Linked DNA regions of Homo sapiens: region 1 is linked to region 2. Evidence: promoter capture Hi-C in human tissues and cell types (Jung and others, 2019). All regions are on one chromosome and are shown on one strand. The core of a region is centred on a gene start or on the middle of the fragment in contact, and the rest is flanking DNA. Distances in the headings are between cores, read along the strand shown.

Evidence for each region. Contacts are between HindIII fragments. The study calls those that stand out against the background at their distance.
Region 1: a contact is called between a fragment that was not itself captured here and the fragment with the promoter of KHSRP in region 2, in 2 of the 25 tissues and cell types used here (IMR-90 fibroblasts and spleen).

The regions. Positions count from the first base shown.
Region 1 is chr19:6,879,785-6,883,865 of GRCh38, forward strand. No RefSeq gene overlaps it. Among named protein-coding and RNA genes, the nearest start is that of ADGRE1, 5.8 kb to the right of the region's middle. The HindIII fragment of the contact is 4,197 bases long and covers 1-4,041 here.
Region 2 is chr19:6,422,333-6,426,089 of GRCh38, forward strand. It overlaps KHSRP (KH-type splicing regulatory protein), which reads right to left and starts at 2,479. Exons shown (of 19, transcript NM_001366299.1): 1 at 2,121-2,479; 2 at 8-104. The coding sequence starts at 2,369. It overlaps SLC25A41 (solute carrier family 25 member 41), which reads right to left. Exons shown (of 7, transcript NM_173637.4): 7 at 3,705-3,757. RefSeq lists an enhancer at 2,787-2,906. The HindIII fragment of the contact is 26,210 bases long and covers 1-3,757 here.

The DNA.
Region 1 (4,081 bases), core at 693-3,192, 460 kb after region 2:
CATGTAGGAGGATCACTTGAGCCCAGGACTTGGAGGCTGCAATGAGCTATGATCATGCCACTGTACTCCAGCCTGGGCAACAGAGCAAAATTCTGTCTTAAAAAAAAAAGAGAGAGAGAGAGAGAGAGAGAAACAAGTCACTAAGTCTATGTTCAAGGAGAGAGGGATTAGTCTCTACCACCTGAAGAGTATGAAAGAACTGATGGATATGTTAAAACCACCACATTGGTCTTCCTGCCTCTAGAGTCCACACTCCTGGATACACTGAACAAGGATTATAGGAGAAAGTGCAAGCCTCTGGCAGTCACTTCTAGTAGATAACATTACCTGAAAGGGAATTATGGGGGGAGGAGGAGAGCGAGGACCAATATCACCAGGGGATGGGAGGTGGGAGGGGAGAGCTACATCTGTGGTCTCTGCAGAGCAGACACTTTTCCAGGGAAACCCTTTTCTTTCTAATCTTTGTGAGTCCCCCAGTGGATATTTGTGTATCTGAGACCTATGAGATACTCGTCCTATGAGACCTCATAGGACGCTGAGACCCCACATTCAGCATTCTATGATCAGGAGCATATGGAGAAGATGTGGGTGCAGAGACATTGCTCAAAGAATACAAAGTTTCAGTTGAACAAGAGGAATATGTTCGAGAGATCTATTGTACAACATGGTGACTGTAGTTAATAACAATGAACAATGTAGCATATCCTTGAAAATTGCTAAGAGGGTAGATGTAACTATTCTTACCACAAAAAAATGACGTGCATGCAAAGGAACAGATAGGTTTATTGCCTCGATTTAGCCATTCCACCACATATACGTATCTCAGAACACCATGTTGTACACCATAAATATATACAATTTAATTTGTCAATTCAAAAAAGAATTTTTTTTTTTTTTTTGACAGAGTCTTGCTCTGTCGCCCAGGCTGGAGTGCAATGGTGCAGTCTAGGCTCACTGCAACCTCTGCCTCCCAGGTTCAAGCAATTCTCCTGCCTCAGCCTCCATGTACCTGAGATTACAGGCACCCACCAGCACACCCAGCTAATTTTTGTATTTTTAGTAGAGACGGGGTTTCACCATGTTGACCAAGCTGATCTCAAACCCCTGACTTCGTGATCCACCCGCCTCGGCCTCTGAAAGTGCTGGGATTACAGGTGTGAGCCACTGTGCCTGGCCCAAAAACGGAAAAGAAAAAAAGAGAGCACATAGACCTCACATATTAACTAGGGGAAATAAGAAGTCAAAATAAACCAAGGCTCAGAAGCCAACGAATTAGAGCTGGTGTTTCTCATAGGTCTCAGACACCCAAATATCCACCTGCAGGCTTTTTTTTTTCTTTTTTTTTGAGACAGGGTCTCACTCTGTCACCCAGGCTGGAGTGCAGTGGTACAATCTCAGCTCACTGCAACCTTCTCCTCCTCCCGGGTTTAAGCGATTCTCCTGCTTCAGCCTCCCAAGTAGCTGAGACTACAGGTGTGCACCACCATGCCTGGCTAACAAAGATTGTAAAGAAAAGGATTTCCCTGGACAAGTGTCTGCTCTGCAGAGACCACAGATGTAGCTCTCCCTGCTCACCTCCCATCCTCTGGTAACATTAGTCCTCGCTCTCCTTCTACCCCCAGAATTCCCTTTCGGGTAATGTTATCTACTGGAATGGACTGCCAGAGGCTTGCACTTTTTCCTATAATCCTGGACTCTGGATACAGCGTGGAACAGAAAAATGTAGAAGGAAGCTGGGTGCGGTGGCTCACACCAGCAATCCCAGCACTTTGGGAGGGTATCGTGGGAGGATTGATTGAGCCCAGGAGTTCAGGACCAGAGACCAGCCTGGGCAACATTACCAGACTCCATCTCTACCAAAAAGTGTTAAAAAAAAAATTAGCCAGGCATGGTAGCAGGTGCCTGTAGTCCTGCTACTCAGGAGGCTGAGGTGGGAGGACTGCTGAAGCCCAGGAGATGGAGGCTGCAGTAAGCTGTGATTGCACCACTGCACTCCAGCCTGGGCAACAGAGCGAGACTCTCTAAAAGAAATAAAAATTTTTTAAAAATTTAAAAATTACAGAGGGGGCCGGGCCTGGTGGCTCATGCCTGTAATCCTAGCACTTTGGGAGGCTGAGGTGGGTGGATGACAAGGTCAAGAGATAGAGACCATCCTGGCCAACATGGTGAAACCCTTCTCTACTAAAAATACAAAAATTAGCTGGGCATGGTGGCATGTGCCTTTAGTCCCAGCTACTTGGGAGGCTGAGGTGGGAGAATTGCTTGAACCCAGGAGGCGGAGGTTGCAGTGAGCCGAGATCGCGCCACTGCACTCCAGCCTGGCAACAGAGCAAGATTTGGTCTCAAAAAACAAACGAAAAAATTGCAGAGGGAATCCTAGAGCTGTGGAAGTCTGGATAGGTGCCCTCTTCAGACAGCAGCTTCTTTCAAACTTAATGAGGCTTTGCACATGCTTTATTTTATTTTTCTTTTGTATTACCTTTTCTGCTAAGTGTGATTATCTCCTGCTCATTCTCCAGGGCTAAGCTTAGACGTTAGCTCCTTTGGGAGGCCATTCTCTCAACCCCCAACCTGGGTCAGGCCTCCTCTGGCCAAGTAATAGCTTCCTCACCTCTGGCTTTCTGTATCTTACAATGGGGAGGACAATCCTGTCTTTTCCCCAGCAACCCTGGGGTGTTGGGCGTGTGGACATCATCCATGCCTGATAACAATACCAACCATCTCAACCAAGGGAAATGAGAAGTCAAAAGACACCAAGAGTCAGAAGCCAACAAGTTAGAGCTGGTGTTTCTGTTTATGGAGCTCATGGCAGGCACTCACCTGCCGCATATGCTGAGCGGTTTCCAGCATCCCTACATGCTCAAGGATCCTGTGGGACAGGGCTGATCATTATCCCTATTCTCCTGATAAGAGACTGAGGCTCAGAGAGGTGAATCACCTCCTGTGGTCACTTTGGAAATACCTTACAGAGTCAGGATTTGAACCCATGGCTGTCTGAGTTCAGTTCCTGTCACTGCAATAACCAACACTTGGAACGTTGGGTGCCAGGCTCTGTTCTTGGTATGCCATATATACTCACTCCTCTGATGCCCACACCAGGTCCATGAGGCAGATCCTACTCTTTTTTTTTTGAGACAGAGTCTTGCTCTGTCACCCAGGCTGGAGTGCAGTGGCACAATCTCAGCTCACTGCAACCTCCACCTCCCGGGTTCAAGTGATTCTCCTGCCTTGGACTTCCAAGTAGCTGGGATTACAGGCACGTGTCACCACGCCCAGCTAATTTTTTGTAGTTTTAGTTGAGACGGGATTTCACCATGTTGGCCAGGCTGGTCTCGAACTTCTGACCTCAAGTGATCCACCCGCCTCCCAAAGTGTTGGGATTACAGGCATGAGCCACTGCTCCTGGGTGAGATCCTATTCTTAATGCGCCCATTTTACAGATGAGAATATTTGAGGCAAGCAGTGGAGGTGGGATTTGAACCTCTGGCAATATGTTTCCAGAGTTCATCTCCAGTGCTTCCGGAAACCACAATGCAGCTCTGTTTGTACCCCTTCCTGGTGGAATTTACTGTATTTTCATGCTGACTCTTAAGTTCAGCCTCTCCAGGCAGTGTCCCTTATTTTCCCCTTAAGAAAAAAAAAAAGTGCAACTGGCTGTCAGCACTTACTTAATTTTACATAAACACCCTTTTTGGGGCTGAAGCAAATCTGACTTCTTTTCTTTTTTTTTTCTTTTAGAAAAACACACTTTATTCATATTTCTTTGGGGTTTTGTTTTGTTGTTGTTGTTGTTTTTGTTTGTTTTTTGAGACCAAGTCTTGCTGTGTCACCCAGGCTGGAGTACAGTGGTGCGATCTCAGCTCACTGCAACGTCTGCCTCCCAGGCTCAAGCTATTCTCCTGCCTCAGCCTCCCAAGTAGCTGGGACTACAGGTACGTACCACCATGCCGGGCTAATTTTTGTATTTTTAGTAGAGACAGAGTTTCATCATGTTGGCCAGGCTGGTCTTGAACTCCTAGCCTCAGGTGATCCACCCACCTCGGCCTTCCAAAGTGCTGGGATTACAGGTGTGAGCCACCGT
Region 2 (3,757 bases), core at 1,229-3,728:
GAGTTACCTCCATCTTCCAACTGTCTCTTTTGGCCCCCAAAACCAAAATCAGGAGTGCTGTTATTCACTGTCGTGGCAGCATCGCCTCCAATTTTGGCTGCAATCTAGAATAAAGTAGTAAGCACAGAAGAATTACCACCAAAAACAACCCTCCATGGCACCCAGGTCAACTTCTCAGAACATCTCCTGGACACGAAAGCCCATCAGGTCTTGGTGTCTGGCCCTCCAACTTAGGGAAGAGTCAGTTGGTTAAGACATCCTAGGAGTTTTGAACCTAGGCCTCAAGGTTCTCACCAGTTAACTGGGAATATCAAAATTCCCCTCTTCCCTTCTCCTGGGATTTGTGTCTTAATTGTGGCCAGCCCATAATCCACACTGACTTCGTTCTAGGGGTGACAAGGAACAGAGGCTCAGGTGTCAGGGAGGGTTCCCAGGTCATCTCCAAGAGCTTTCAGACACTTCCTCCTGCCAGTGGCCCCAGCTCAGAAAACCAGAAAGTGTGTTTTTTTTTAGCCCCGTTTTCCTGGGATGCTGAAGAGTTCAATTTTCCCCTATCTCCCCCACTCTCAAAATCCTTTTATCAATTTATTGAATAAATTTGAGCAAAGCGATCACTTCAAGGGATATGAAATCCTCATTTGACCAAAACAGAAGACTCTCTGGATGGCTGGGCACTGTGACTTATGCCTGTAATCCCAGCATTTTGGGAGGCCGAGGCGGGCAGATCACTTGAACTCAGGAGTTCGAGACAGACTGGCTGACATGGTCAAACTCCATCTCTACTAAAAATACAAAAATTAGCTGGGTGTGGTGGTGCACACTTATAATCCCAGCTACTCGGGAGGCTGAGGCAGGAGGAGCACTTCAACTGGAGAGGTGGAGGCTGTGGTGTGCTGAGATCGTGCCACTGCACCCCTGCCTGGGTGATATTGAGACTGTTTCCAAAAAACAAACAAACAAACAAAAAACCAAGACTCTATGGGACACAAGTTACATCTCAGACACGTGAAGAGCAACTTTAAAGAAACCTCAACCCAGCAAACTTAGGATCAGAGTCTGGGGTTTAGAAACCCAAACCATGTTAAGAATCTCCCTTTCCACCAGTCTCCATTTTTCTACGCTGCCCTAGAGCCAAAACTCATGGGATGCCCACAGGGGGCCTGTCCCCACCAACTGACAGCACCAGCTTCCTCCCTTCAAGCTGTCCCAGAATCAGACGGTTCCATGGGCAATAAGACCAAATGCACGCTAGAACCCACCCAACTCCAAGGGTGAGAGAGACGACAGAGGGCCAGAACACAGGCGTTCACTTAACGGGACCTCCCACCTTGGGAGGAGCCAGTCTCTAGCCCCGGAGGCATTGGGACAGCCCAGGAGCCGGTCGGCGGCAAAGTCCTCCCATTCTACCGACCCCCACCCCTCCAGGCCATGGGGAGGCTGCAAATGGAGCTGGAGAGGTCAGTCCTAGCAGCATGTGACACTTCCTTGTCATTACGCCTCAATACACGGGGGTGGGAGACCCTCCCTTCTTTCCCCCAAAGAGACAGACCACGCTTTCAAGCCACCAAAGCATCCAAGAGCCAGTCCCCATGCTCGTCTTCCCCATTTCGCCCAAGTGCTCAGCCCTAGACAGGTCCCCATCCACTTTCCCGACTGAAGAGGAAGGACTGTCCCTCCCACCCCCACAATGTCCCTTTCTCCTAGAGAGGGGACAGAAATGGGACTGGGTTGGGGGCAAACACTGCCCTTTGCCCTGATATGGAGGGGAGAGTAAAGGCCCTCCGCCCGGGAAGGTGGACCCCTGCCTCCAGGCATGTCCTAAGGCCGGGGGGCTAAGGGGGGGGTCCCAAAAGTGCGTCTCCGAGCTCCGGGGCGCCTGCACACCCAGGCGCCGCTCCTGGTGACCCCCAGTGCGCCCCTACTCCCTGCAGGGGGGTCACCCGTTGGGATCCCACTCGAGGCGCAGCGGGAGGGCCAGGCCCCCGCCTACCGCCCACGTGACCCCGCGACGGCCCCGGCCCCCCTCCGCGACCCTGCGCGCGCGCGCGCACGTGACCCCCGCCCCCTCCCCCGCCTGCGCGCGCGCGCGAGCGCGCCCCTCAGGCCCTCGGCCTCCTCACCTGGCGGGCCCGCTGCACGGCGTCGGCGAAAGCGTCCTTGCGGATTCCCGGGCCGCCTCCGCCGGGTGGCTGAGAGGGGCCCCCGGCCGACCCCCCGCCCGGGCCGCCGCCGCCGGGACCGCCGCCGCCCCGGTCCCCCGCGCCTGGCGGGCCCGGCGGAGGGCCTCCCCCGGCGCCTCCGGCTCCCCCGCCCCCGCCGGCGGGCGGCGGCGGCCCGGGCGGGGGTCCTCCCGTGCTGTAGTCCGACATGGCGCGGCGGGGCCGGGCCTGGCGCGGAGGCTGAAGCTGAGGAGGCGGCGGCGGCGGCGGCGGCTCAACGCGGGAACAAGGCCTCGCTCCACACGGCCGCGGAGCACTCTGGGAACCCAGCCGCTGGGAGGACGACGAGGGGGGAGAGAGTCGCCCCTCCCGCCGCCGACGTGACGGACGACTCCGGCGGGCCAATGGGAGGCAGCCGCCGCACCCCGGACACCAATCGCGAGCTCTGTAGGAGGTGGCCAATCGGAGTGCAATGAGGGGCAGTGGGCGGGAGGCTCAGAGTGACTGACAGCTCTCAGAGGCAATAGCTGCGAGCTGCCCGTGCTGGGCGGGCAAATGAAGGAGATCTGAGAAGGCAGGAGGCCCAATGAAACGCGAGTGCCAGATTCGCGGGGCGGCTTCAGAATTAGATTGACGGTTCTGAAGAGTCACGTGGACTGTAAGGCCGGGCCTAGTGGAAGACTCCTATGGACCGGCTGGGTGGGCGTTAGGTTTGATAGTCGTGGACACAAGCCAATGAATGCACGTGAGAGGTGGTGCTTGTAAAGATGGGCAGCCAATTAATCCAATTCCTGACGAGTTCTGGGTGATGAGGTTGGCTTTGGACTTTAATTGCTTCCCTTGTTAACCAGAATCCTTTTCTATCCCTGACTTCTAAGCCAATGGCTGAGCGACATGGGTGGGTGTTCGGTGACTGACACTGGTCTGGACAAATGGGAATGAAGGAAATCAAAGCGCCCACTTTTGGTGGGAGCCAGTGGAAGCGCCGCTGCATTGGGGCGGAGTCGGCCACCAGACAGCGAGGGGATTAGCGGGAACTGTAGTGAATGGCAGCCGACGTGGGCGGTGGCAATCGGCTGCCCGAACTCAGGCCTGATGTCTGGGTTAGCTCACCGGCAGCCTGGTTGGGTAGGCCCGGCACGTGGCCCGCTTGAAGCCTTAGAGATCGAGCGCTTCCGGAGGTGGGGAGGCCGGAAAGCAGGAAACTCGGGATCCCCCGGGCCTTCTTCTCTCTCGACCCCCCATCTAGAGCGTCCAGTTCTCTTGCAGGACTCAAGGAACCAGCCCCACTCACGAGTCCAGAACCGTTCCAACAACCGGGATCGAGGGATCACAGCCTCGATCACACCCCTCACTTCACACCCCTCACTCCCTTCGCCTAAGGCCCTGGGATCCAAGCCTCAAGCTCCTATCCTAGGTCCTCACTTCCTCTCCTGGACACAAATTCCCATTCAGGACCCAGAGGCCCAAGGTCCCCAGCTCCCCTACTGGGTCCAGGGATCTCATGCACCCAGTTCCACTCCTAGGCCCAAGTATCCAGACACGTTCAGCAAAAACCATCTCTTTATTCCTTGTTGTGTGACATGTTCACCATTTCG